Linked DNA regions of Homo sapiens: region 1 is linked to region 2. Evidence: promoter capture Hi-C in 16 types of primary human blood cells and fetal thymus (Javierre and others, 2016). All regions are on one chromosome and are shown on one strand. Each heading gives the region's core, a stretch centred on a gene start or on the middle of the fragment in contact. The rest is flanking DNA. Distances are from core to core; before and after follow the strand shown. Region 1 overlaps PAIP2 (poly(A) binding protein interacting protein 2). Region 2 holds the start of CTNNA1 (catenin alpha 1).

What was found. The method cuts DNA at HindIII sites, captures the fragments that hold promoters and counts their contacts. A CHiCAGO score of 5 or more calls a contact.
Region 1: a fragment that was not itself captured here is called in contact with the fragment with the promoter of CTNNA1 in region 2 in 1 of 17 cell types (M0 macrophages); the score reaches 5.5 in M0 macrophages.

Annotation. Positions count from the first base shown.
Region 1 is chr5:139,345,130-139,350,411 of GRCh38, forward strand. All of the region lies in intron 1 of PAIP2 (poly(A) binding protein interacting protein 2), which reads left to right. Among named protein-coding and RNA genes, the nearest start is that of PAIP2, 5.9 kb to the left of the region's middle. The HindIII fragment of the contact is 8,536 bases long and covers 1-5,282 here.
Region 2 is chr5:138,751,787-138,757,023 of GRCh38, forward strand. CTNNA1 (catenin alpha 1) reads left to right here and starts at 1,639. Exons shown (of 18, transcript NM_001903.5): 1 at 1,639-1,724. CTNNA1-AS1 (CTNNA1 antisense RNA 1) reads right to left here and starts at 2,138. Exons shown (of 2, transcript NR_134244.1): 1 at 1,737-2,138. RefSeq lists a silencer at 1,529-1,968 and enhancers at 1,672-2,239, 2,240-2,806. The HindIII fragment of the contact is 6,352 bases long and covers 1-3,931 here.

The sequences.
Region 1 (5,282 bases), core at 249-2,748, 590 kb after region 2:
CCACCTCCAGGGTTCATGCCATTCTTCTGCCTCAGCCTCCTGAGTAGCTGCACCCGACACCACACCTGGCTACTTTTGTTTTTGTATTTTTAATAGAGACGGGGTTTCACCGTGTTAGCCAGGATGGTCTCGATCTCCTGACCTCGTGATCCAACGGCCTTGGCCTCCCAAAGTGCTGGGATTACAGGTGTGAGCCACCGCGCCCAGCCCAGAGCCCATGTTTTTTAATCGTTACCTTACTGTGCCAAATAGTAAAACAAAAAATTCGGTGCTTTTCACAGACTTCAGAGTGGAAAACAGACCAATTGAAAAATGTTGCGATCCTCTTTAACTGCCAAAGGAAGTATGCTTAAACGTATATATGCGTAAAATACGATTAAAAAATATGCAAATAAGGTAAGGATCACAGTGGTTCAAAACAGAGTCCAAGGGAATGAGAAAAGATGGTGCCTATGGAGGTAGATTAATGAAAGAAACAGAAGAGAACTATGCTTGAATTTTTTTTTTTTTTTTTTTGAAACGGAGTCTTGCTCTGTTGCCCAGGCCTGAGTGCAGTGGCATGATCTCATTTCACTGCAAGCTCCACCTCCCGGGTTCATGCCATTCTCTTGCCTCAGCCTCCTGAGTAGCTGGGACTACAGACGCTTGCCACCATGCCTGGCTAATTTTTTGTATTTTTAGGAGAGATGGGGTTTCACCGTGTTAGCCAGGATGGTCTCAATCTCCTGACCTTGTGATCCGCCCACCTCGGCCTCCCAAAGTGCTGGGATTACAGGCGTGAGCCACCGCACCAGGCCTATATTTGAATTTTAATGAGAATTCTTAAAAGATGAAACTAGTGGAGAAAGATTGTAAAACCTAAAAGATTTCTGTATTTTAAAATTCCATAGACAATATAAAAGGACACTGCTGGAAACCAATATGTCTAAGAGGCATTTCAGGAGGGGAAAAACAGCTGAAGACACAATAAAGCCCTAAGTTGATAAATTGAAAGGGTTTGCTGACTTCCAGGCAGTAGTACTGGGAAAAAATTGCTCTTACCTATCCAAAATCTGGTGAAATATATGAATTTGTTAAAACATCTTAAGCTGTCGTCTAGAACAGGATTTTTAAATTTTTATTTATTTTTTTGAGACGGAGATTTGCTCTGTCACCAGGCCGGAGTGCAGTGGCGCAATCTTGGCTCACTGCAACCTCCGCCTCCCAGGTTCCAGTGATTCTCCTGCCTCAGCCTCCCCAGTAGCTGGGACTACAAGCATGTGCCACCACGCCCAGCTAATGTTTGTATTTTTAGAGACGGGGTTTCACCATGTTGGCCAGGATGGTCTCAATCTCTTGACCTCATGATCCACCCCCTTGGCCTCCCAAAGTGTTGGGATTACAGGCGTGAGCCACCGCACCTGGCCTATTTTTATTTTTTGAGATGCAGTCTCCCTCTGATGCTCAGGTTGGAATGCAGTGGCACCATCTCAGCTCACTGCAACCTCTGCCTCCCAGGTTCAAGCAATTCTCCTGCCTCAGCCTCCCGAGTAGCTGGGACTACAAGCGTGCACCTCCATGTCCAGCTAATTTTTGCATTTTTAGAGACGGGGTTTCGCCCAAGTTGGCCAGGATGGCCTCAATCTCTTGACCTCGTGATCCACCCCCTTTGGCCTCCCAAAGTGCTGGGCGTGAGCTGCTGCGCCCAGCTTATTTTTATTTTTTGAGATGCAGTCTCAGTCTGTTGCTCAGGCTGGAATGCACCATCTCAGCTCACTGCAACCTCTGCCTCCCAGGTTCAAGCAGTGCTCCTGCCTCAGGCTCCCGAGTAGCTGGGACTACAGCTGTGCGCCACCATGCCTGGCTTAGTTTTTGTATTACTAGAGATGGGGTTTCACCATGTTGGCCAGGGCCGGTCTCAAACTCCTCACCTCAAGTGATCCACCTCCCTTGGCCTCCTAAAGTGCTAGGATTATAGGTGTGAGCCACTGCACCCAGCCTAGAACAGGATTTTTAAAAGGAAAGAAAATTGATTTTCTACAACATTGAAAGTTGGAATTATTGACAATAGATTATCAACAGGAAGCACAGACATCTCAGAATTCTGTTACAACTAATTTTTTTTTTAGCACATTTACATGGAAATACTCATGTTACAACTTTTTTTTTTTTTTTTTTTTTTTAAGACACAGTTCCGCTCTGTCGCCCAGGCTGGAGTGCAGTGGCGCGATCTTGGCTCACTGCTACCTCCACCTCCCGAGTTCAAGCGATTCTCCTGCCTCAGCCTCCTGAGTAGCTGACACTACAGGCGCCCACCACCATGCCCGGCTAATTTTTGTATTTTTGGTAGAGGCAAGGTTTCACCATATTGGCCGGGCTTTTCTAGAACTCCTGACCTCAAATGATCCACCCACCTTGGCCTCCCAAAGTGGTGGGATTACAGGCCTGAGCCACCACGCCAGGCCATACAACATTTTTATTCAAACATGAAGGCAAAAGATGTTTTGTAGCATTAGGAGATACACCTAATGCTAAATGACGAGTTAATGGGTGCAGCACACCAGCATGGCACATGTATACATATGTAACTAACCTGCACATTGTGCACATGTACCCTAAAACTTAAAGTATAATAATAATTTTTAAAAAACTGTGGTACATCCATAAAAAAAAAAAAGATGTTTTGGACACTGGCTTAGAATGATAAATCCTCAGGTAGCCTTTTGAACTATTTTACAAAGATAGGAAGTTAGGGGAAGATGATGAATATAAGAAACAACTCGGCCAGTGTGGTGGCTCATATCTGTAATCCCAGCACTTCGGGAGGCCGAGGTGGGCGGATCACCTGAGTTCAGGAGTTCTAGACGAGCCTGGCCAACATAGTGAAACCCCATCTCTACTAAAAATACAGAAATTAGCCAGGCACAGGCATGGTGTTACACACTTGTAATTCCAGCTACTCAGGAGGCAGAGGTTGCAGTGACCCGAGATCGTGCAGCTGCACTTTAGCCTGGGCAACAGAGTGAGACTCCATGTCAAAAAAAAAAAAAAAAAAACTACGAGTGATGAATTTATTTATTTATTTATTTATATTTTTTGAGACAGGGTCTTGCTGTGTCACCCAGGCTGGGGTGCAGTGGCGTGATCTTGGCTCACTGCAGCCTCTGCCTCCCAGGCTCGAGCAATTCTCCTGCTTCAGCCTTCTGAGTAGCTGGGACAACAGGGGACCACCACCAAGCCTGGCTAATTTTTTTTTTTTTTTTTGAGACGGAGTCTCACTCTGTCGCCCAAGTTGGAGTGCAGTGGCGTAGTCTCAGCTGACTGCAAGCTCTGCCTCCCGGGTTCACGCCAATTTCCTGCCTCGGCCTCCTGAGTAGCTGGGACTACAGGTGCCTGCCACCATACTTGGCTAATTTTTTTTTGTATTTTTAGTAGAGATGGGGTTTCACCGTGTTAGCCAAGATGGTCTAGATCTCCTGACCCCATGATCTGCCCACCTCGGCCTCCCAAAGTGCTGGGATTACAGGCGTGAGCCACTGTGCCTGGCCACGCCCAGCTAATCTTTGTATCTTTTTTTTTTTTTTTTAAAGTCAGAGTTTCACTCTTATTGCTTAGGCTGAAGTGCAGGACACAGTCTTGGCTCACTGCAACCTCTGCCTCCCAGGTTCAAGCAATTCTCCTGCCTCAGCCTCCCCAGTAGCTGGGATTACAGGTGCCTGCCACCACACCCAGCTAATTTTTGTATTTTTAGTAGAGACGGTTTCGCCATGTTGGCCAGGCTAGTCTTGAACTCCTGACCTCAGGTGATCTGCCTGCCTCAGCCTCCCAAAGTGCTGGGATTACAAGCGTGAGCCACTGTGCATGGCCTGAGTGATGAATTTAGTAAAATATAAATGGATGATAATGTGTATTGTCAAGTATTCAATTCAAAAATTATTTTAAAACATAGTAAGAGAAAACCTAATAGTAGGAATCTACCAGTGCTAACTTCCACAAAACTGAAGATTGGGGAGGGAAGAAGTGTGTAAGTAAAATAATTTTAAAGGGCTTGCCTTGGCTCAGAGTAAGCATTGGGTTGGGTATATTGGAGAAGGAAAGGCATTCTAAATGGATGTATAGAGTTGTTTTTTGCTGTTGTTGTTGTTGTTGTTTTTCTCTGAGACGGAGTCTCGCTCTGTCGCCCAGGCTGGAGTACAGTGGTGTGATCTTAGCTCACTGCAACCTCCGCCTCCTGAGTTCAAGCAATTCTCCTGCCTCAGCTTCCTGACTAGCTAGAACTACAAGCTCACACCACCATGCCTGGCTAATTTTTGTATTTTTAGTAGATACCGGGTTTCGCCATGTTGGCCAGGATGGTCTCGATCTCCTGACCTTGTGATCCACGCGCCTCAGCCTCCCAAAGTGCTGGGATTACAGGCATGAGCCACTGCCTCCTGCCCTTGGAGTACATTTTTAATTGATAGGAAAATAGTTAAAGTTATTAAGTGTAGGAAAATAAACGCTATAGAAAAGAAATAGTTAATAGAACATTTGAAAAAGCATAAGAAAAGTAAACATGAAATTATTATGAAAGACATAAAACGAAACATCAGTTATCAAAAATGTTAATTCCTGGCTGGGCACAGTGTCTCACACCTGTAATTCCAGCACTTTGGGAGGCTGAGATAGGTGGATCACAAAGTCAAGAGATTGAGACCATCCTGGCCAACATGGTGAAACCCCGTTTCTACTAAAAATACAAAAGTTAGCTGGACATGGTGGCGTGCACCTGTGATCCCAGCTACTCGGGAGGCTGAGGCAGGAGAATCACTTGAACGCGGGAGGCAGAGGTTACAGTGATCCGAGATTGCGCCACTACACTCCAGCCTGGCGACAGAGTGAGACTCTGTCTCAAAAAATAAAAATAAGAAATAAAAGTTAGCCAGGTGTGGTGGCGGGCGCCTGTAATCCCAGCTACTCTGGAGGCTGAGGCAGGAGAATTGCTTGAACCCTGGAGGCAGAGACTGCAGTGAGCTGAGATCGCGCCACTGCACTCCAGCCTGGGCAGCAAAGGCGAGACTCTGTCTCAAAAAAAAAAAAAAAAAGTTAATTCCTTATGAGACAGAAATTCTCAGACTGGGTCACATATTCTATCTACTGTAGTAGAGGACTTGGATAAACCACTTTCAGAATTGACCAGATTAAGTAAAAAAGATGAGTGTAATATATACATCATTCTTGTACTTTAGAAATAGAAATCACAGGCCAGGGGCGGTGGCTCATGCCTGTAATCCCAGCACTTTGGGAGGCCGAGGTGGGCGGAT
Region 2 (5,237 bases), core at 389-2,888:
CTTAAAGGTTGTTCTCTCCCCACTTCATGGTCCTATTGCCCTTTGTCAGCATCTGTTAACTAGCACAGGCCCACAGTACTTTGAATTACAGTGGGCACATTCACCCACAGATGTTCACTAGGCACTCCCTAGGGGATGGGCAATGTGCTGGGTGCTGCAGGAGATACAGCTCCTGCTTTCCAGAAGTTTATATTCCCTTGGGGGAGAGGGAGATGTGAGGAGTAGAGGGTAAACACGGTAAGGGCAGGTCTCCCTAGCACCCTGCTCTCTATTCAGCACAAGGCCAGCAGTGGACATCGTCGTCTTGCATTATTCAGGTTTATAGGCCAATACTGAAATCTATCTTATTCATCATCCCGTGAGCAGGGGAAACATCATTAGGGTTTTCTATACCAGGATGATAGTGAGCATGTAGTAGTTTTTGTTTTTTTGTGTTGTTTGTTTGCTTTGTAATTTTGTTTTCTTTTGTTTTTGGAGTATTCACTATGAAGATAAGAAAGGGTAAGAATAAAATGCCCCAAATGACCAGAGGAATAGAGATAGAAGTCAGGTCCCTCAAATTTGTTGGAGGAGGGGGACAAGCTGGGAGGGGGGACGTGCTGGGGGCGGGGCGGGAACAAGCCCAAAAAGGGACAGCTGCTGCGGTGCCTCTTTTGTGTTTGTAAATGTCCTCCCCGCAAGGTGGCTCTAGCCTGTAATCCCAGCACTTTGGGAGGCTGAGGAGGATTTCTTGAGCCCATGAGTTTGAGACCAGCCTGGCAACATAGTGAGACTCTGTGTCTGTAGTTCCAGCTACTCCGGAGGCTGAGGTGGGAGGGTCGGTTGTCCAGGGATTTGAGGCTGCAGTGGGCCGTGATCGCGACACTCCACCCCAGCCTGGGCGACAGAGGGAGACCCCGTCTTAAAAAAAAAAAAAAGTCCTTGATCAAGAGGGCTTCGGGTGTTTCCATCTGTGGAGTGAGGGGACGGGTTAGGTGAATTCTAGGGGCGCTTCCACCTCACATTATGAAAGGTCCTGAGAGTCAGATTCTAGTTCCACTGTGTCCCGAAGCTGTGGGGCCTTTCCTTAGCCTCCGCTTCTCCTTCTGTAAAGCCAGGTAGTTGGCCTAGATCACTTTTCCAGAAGACTGTGACTCCGGGACACCTGTGACACTCTTGAGGGGAGCGTGCCCAGTACCCCTGGTCGCGTCTCTGGGATTCCGCCGGGGTGGGGGCCCGCGCGAGGCCGCCCCTGAGCCTCACCTGTGCGCGGAGCGGTGACTCACCTGCCCTCGCGCAGCCCTCTCCGCCCGCGGGCTGTTCCAGGAGTCACCGCTCCTCCTCCCTCTCAGGGGTCACTCCCGGCCTAAGCTCCCACTAGGGGCCGGGGAGGAAGGAATTCTGAGGTGGGCGGCGGGGAGGAAGAGGTCCCTCGGGGGTCCCGGTCCGGCGTTGCCAGACTCTCTTCGCGGTGGGGGCCTTCCCTTTCCCCAAAAGCGGAGGCCGGAACGGCCGGGAGGAGCGGGCGGGGCGGCGGCGGGAGGCGCCGGGAAGAGCGAGTCGGAGGGAGGTGCCAGGAAGGGCGGGCGGGGCCGGGACAGGGGCGGGGGCCGCGGGCGGGGGGCGGGCCGGGGGCGGGGGCGTGGGGCGGCCCATTTCCTCCTCCTAGCCGGACTGGAGGGAGACAAAGCAGCGCCCGTCTGCTTCGGGCCTCTGGAATTTAGCGCTCGCCCAGCTAGCCGCAGGTAACTTCGTACCTCCCTCCTCGCGGGCGCGGTCTCTCGGGCCAGGCCGAGAGGGTCCTTGGGCCGGGCCGTCCCAAGCTGGGCCCCGCGAGCCGCGGGCGGGCGAGCGGGCGGGGCGCGGTTTCTTTGGCGACGTCGCCGGGAATTGGGCCCCGGGCGGGCGTGGGACCCGCGTCGGGCCGGCGGTCCCTTCCCCCGCAGGGCCCGAGTATGGGGCCCGGGCGGGCACGGCCGGCGCTTCCCAGCGCTCGGGAAGTCGGGGGGCCGCCTGGGCTGGGGAGGAGAAACTATAGGCCCAGCGCCGCCGCCGCGTTTCCTCTTGGAAAAGTTTTCTCGCGGTTTCCAAACTTTGTTACCGCGGCCTCGGCGCGCGCGGCAGCCCCGCGCCGGGCCCCTCGGCCGCCTTCCTTCCCTGGGGCGGCTTGTCTGGGAGCCGCTTTCCCGGGAAGTGATTGTCGTCCGGCTCCGAGGCGTTCCTGCCCCCTCCCCCTTCCCGGCCGCTGAGACTTCCCGATGGGGCGGCGGGGACGCGGGCTCGGCGAACCGGGAGGCTGGAGCCCGGGCTTCTCCCATACAGCTTCGCCGTAGGTGGGCCACACCCGTGTGGACTTTTGGCGTGACCGTCCACTTGGACTCGGGGATTACTCAGCTTTCCTGGGTTTCTTGTCGGTTGGACGCACTTAGCTTTCAGCCCTAGTTTTCAGGAGTGGCATTAGAGAGGTTTTTTTTTTTTTTTAATTGTTGTTGACTTTTAAAGGAGCGTGTGTGTGCGTGCGAGTGTGAAGCACTTGTTGGAAAAAATGTTGCCTGAATGAATGCCTGACCTTTGCTTGGCAGCAGTGGCTTCCCAGTAATGCAGGCGGCGGTTGGCCCAGTTCCAAGGTTGACTCCCTCTTACGTCCTCTTGCATCTTGGTGACATTTTTTTGGTGCGTGTGTTTTGTACAGAATTTACAATTATTTGGAAAAGAGCGAGATATGTCAAGTCTACGACTAAATTCGGGGCATTTTATATTTATGATGAAGGAAATGCTTACATCATTGTTGGGACAGGATAGGCATTTTGTGGAGCGAATATTTGTGTTTAGTCAGCAGTGATTTTTAAATACTGGACAGGTGGGTGTTACTTTAAGGAACGGAATTTATAAATCGAATTAATTAGGATGTGTTATTTTGTTTTACAGGAAGAATGAAGAATGAGTGTAGGAGTTACCTATAGTTTCTGCCTAATTATTTACCAATCTGGACTTTTGAACAAACATTTTTTTTAAAGACGGGGTCTCCGTCGCCCGGGCTGGAGCGCAGTGACACGATCATGACTCACTGCGGCTTCTGTCTCCTGGGCTCAAGTGATCCCCCCACCTCGGCTTCCGAAGTAGTTGGGACTACAGGCACGCGCCACCACATCCGTCTAATTTTTGTATTTTTGGTAGAGATGGTGTCTCGCTGTCTTGCCCAAGCTGGTCTCGAACTCCTGGGCTCAAGTGGTCCTCCTGCCTCAGCCTCCCAAAGTGTTGTGATTACAGGCCTGAGCCAGGGTGCCTGACCCCATCTGGATATTTATTCAGCGAAAGAATAATTTTTTAATCCACCTAAGAGCTCACAGTGTAATAGGGGAGACACACACCCCAGGTGTAGTACAGAGCGGACTGCAGTAAGTGCCTTAACAGTACTAATGAAACTATTGTCTGAGTCAAATCTTACCTAATAGTAACAACAAAAGAAACTTGTAGAGGCACGGAGAGGGGGCTAATAAGTTTTACTTGGGTAAGTCCAGAAAGGCTTTCAGGAGGTGGTGGCATTTGATCTGGATGAAACATGAGTCGAGTTTTTTTTAAGTGAAGGGAGAAAGTCATGAGAAGCATAAAAGGGCATAGGAGTTTGGGGAATTGTGATATCACTCTCCTGGTTTTCTTTTCCTTTTGACTCATCTCAGTTTCTTTCTTTTCCTCGCCCTCACTCTTTCCTCTCGTACCCAGGGTTCTTTCCAAAGTATCTTTGTCCTCCACACCACTGATGTGGCATCACCTTCACTCCCATCAGTGATATCTCATTTCATATAGTGACTTAGAGATGAGAGGTACCCTCCTCCAAGATGAGAATCACTGCTCTGTGCAGTCTCTTCTGTCATCAGCCTTATGTGCTAAAAGTCCAAGCCTTTGAGTGCAGGTGTGTCTCCTGACCCACATGGTCACCTGTGCATTGGGAAGCTTTTTGGGTGTCCCAGGCTTCTCAAACTCAAGGTGTCCAAAGTGGGACTCCTGTCTCTTCTGGAGACATGAACCAGATGTGGAGATCCAGGGTAACTGCCCTGCCCGGGTTTTGGGATTTCCTTCTTTTTTTTTTTTTTTTTTTTTTTTTTTTTTTTTTTGATGGAGTCTCCCTGTGTTGCCCAGGCTGGGGTTCAGTGAGGTGATCTCAGTTCACTGCAAACTCCACCTCCTGGGGATTCAAGCGATTCTCCTGTCTCAGCCTCCGGAGTAGCTGGGATTACTAAGTGCAAGCTACCACGCCCGGCTTATTTATTTATTTATTTATTTATTTATTTTGAGATAGTCTTGCTGTGTCTCCCAGGCTGGAGTGCAGTGGCATAATTGCGGCTCACTGCAACCCGTGCCTCCTGGGTTCAAGCAACTCTCCTGCCTCAACCTCAAGGAGCTGGGATTACAGGTGTGTGCCAACATGCCTGCCTAATTTTTTTGTATTTTTGATAGAGAGGGTTTCACCATGTTGGCCAGGCTGGTCTCAAACTCCTGACCTCGTGATCCACCTCGGCCTCCCAAAGTGCTGGGATTGCAGGCTTCAGCCACCGTGCCCAGCCTGATTTTTTAATTTTTAGCAGAGATGGGGTTTCATCATATTGGTGAGTCTGGTCTTTAACTCCTGACCTCAGGTGATCCACTCGCCTCAGCCTCCTAAAGTGCTGGGATTACAGGTGTGAGCCACCGCACTTTCGGATTTCTTTGAGAACGTAACTCACTGTGGGGCATAACAGACAGCCCTGATTGTTGGGGGTAGTGTTGTGTGCTGGTGAGAATATGGAGAGAAGGAACAGGGCCCTCTGCATTTGTAGAGGTCCTGAGACAGGAAAGACTCCGTGTGTTTAGAGACTTGAGAGAAGACTTGTATAGCTTGGGTACTTTTTCAGTGGGGAGAAGACCTCACATGAGATTGCCAGAGAAGGCAGAGGCCATGTTGGGGTTTTATTCTAGAGGTGTAAGAAGCCATTGTAGGGAGTTTCATGATTTGATTTCCTTTTTAAGACTCCTGCTAGTGCTTGGAGAAGGCTTGTGTTTGTGTGCATGTGGAAGCAGAGAGTTGAGCTAGGAAGATGGTGGAGTACGAGGTGGTAGGGATGAAGGGAGCTGTATTTTGGAGAAATGAGACAGGACTTAAATATGGATTGGGGCTGGACAGGGAGGCTCATGCCTATAATCCTGTTTTTTTGGGAGGCTGAGTTGGGAGGATCACTTGAAGCTAGGAGTTCAAGACCAGCCTGAGCAACTTTATGAGA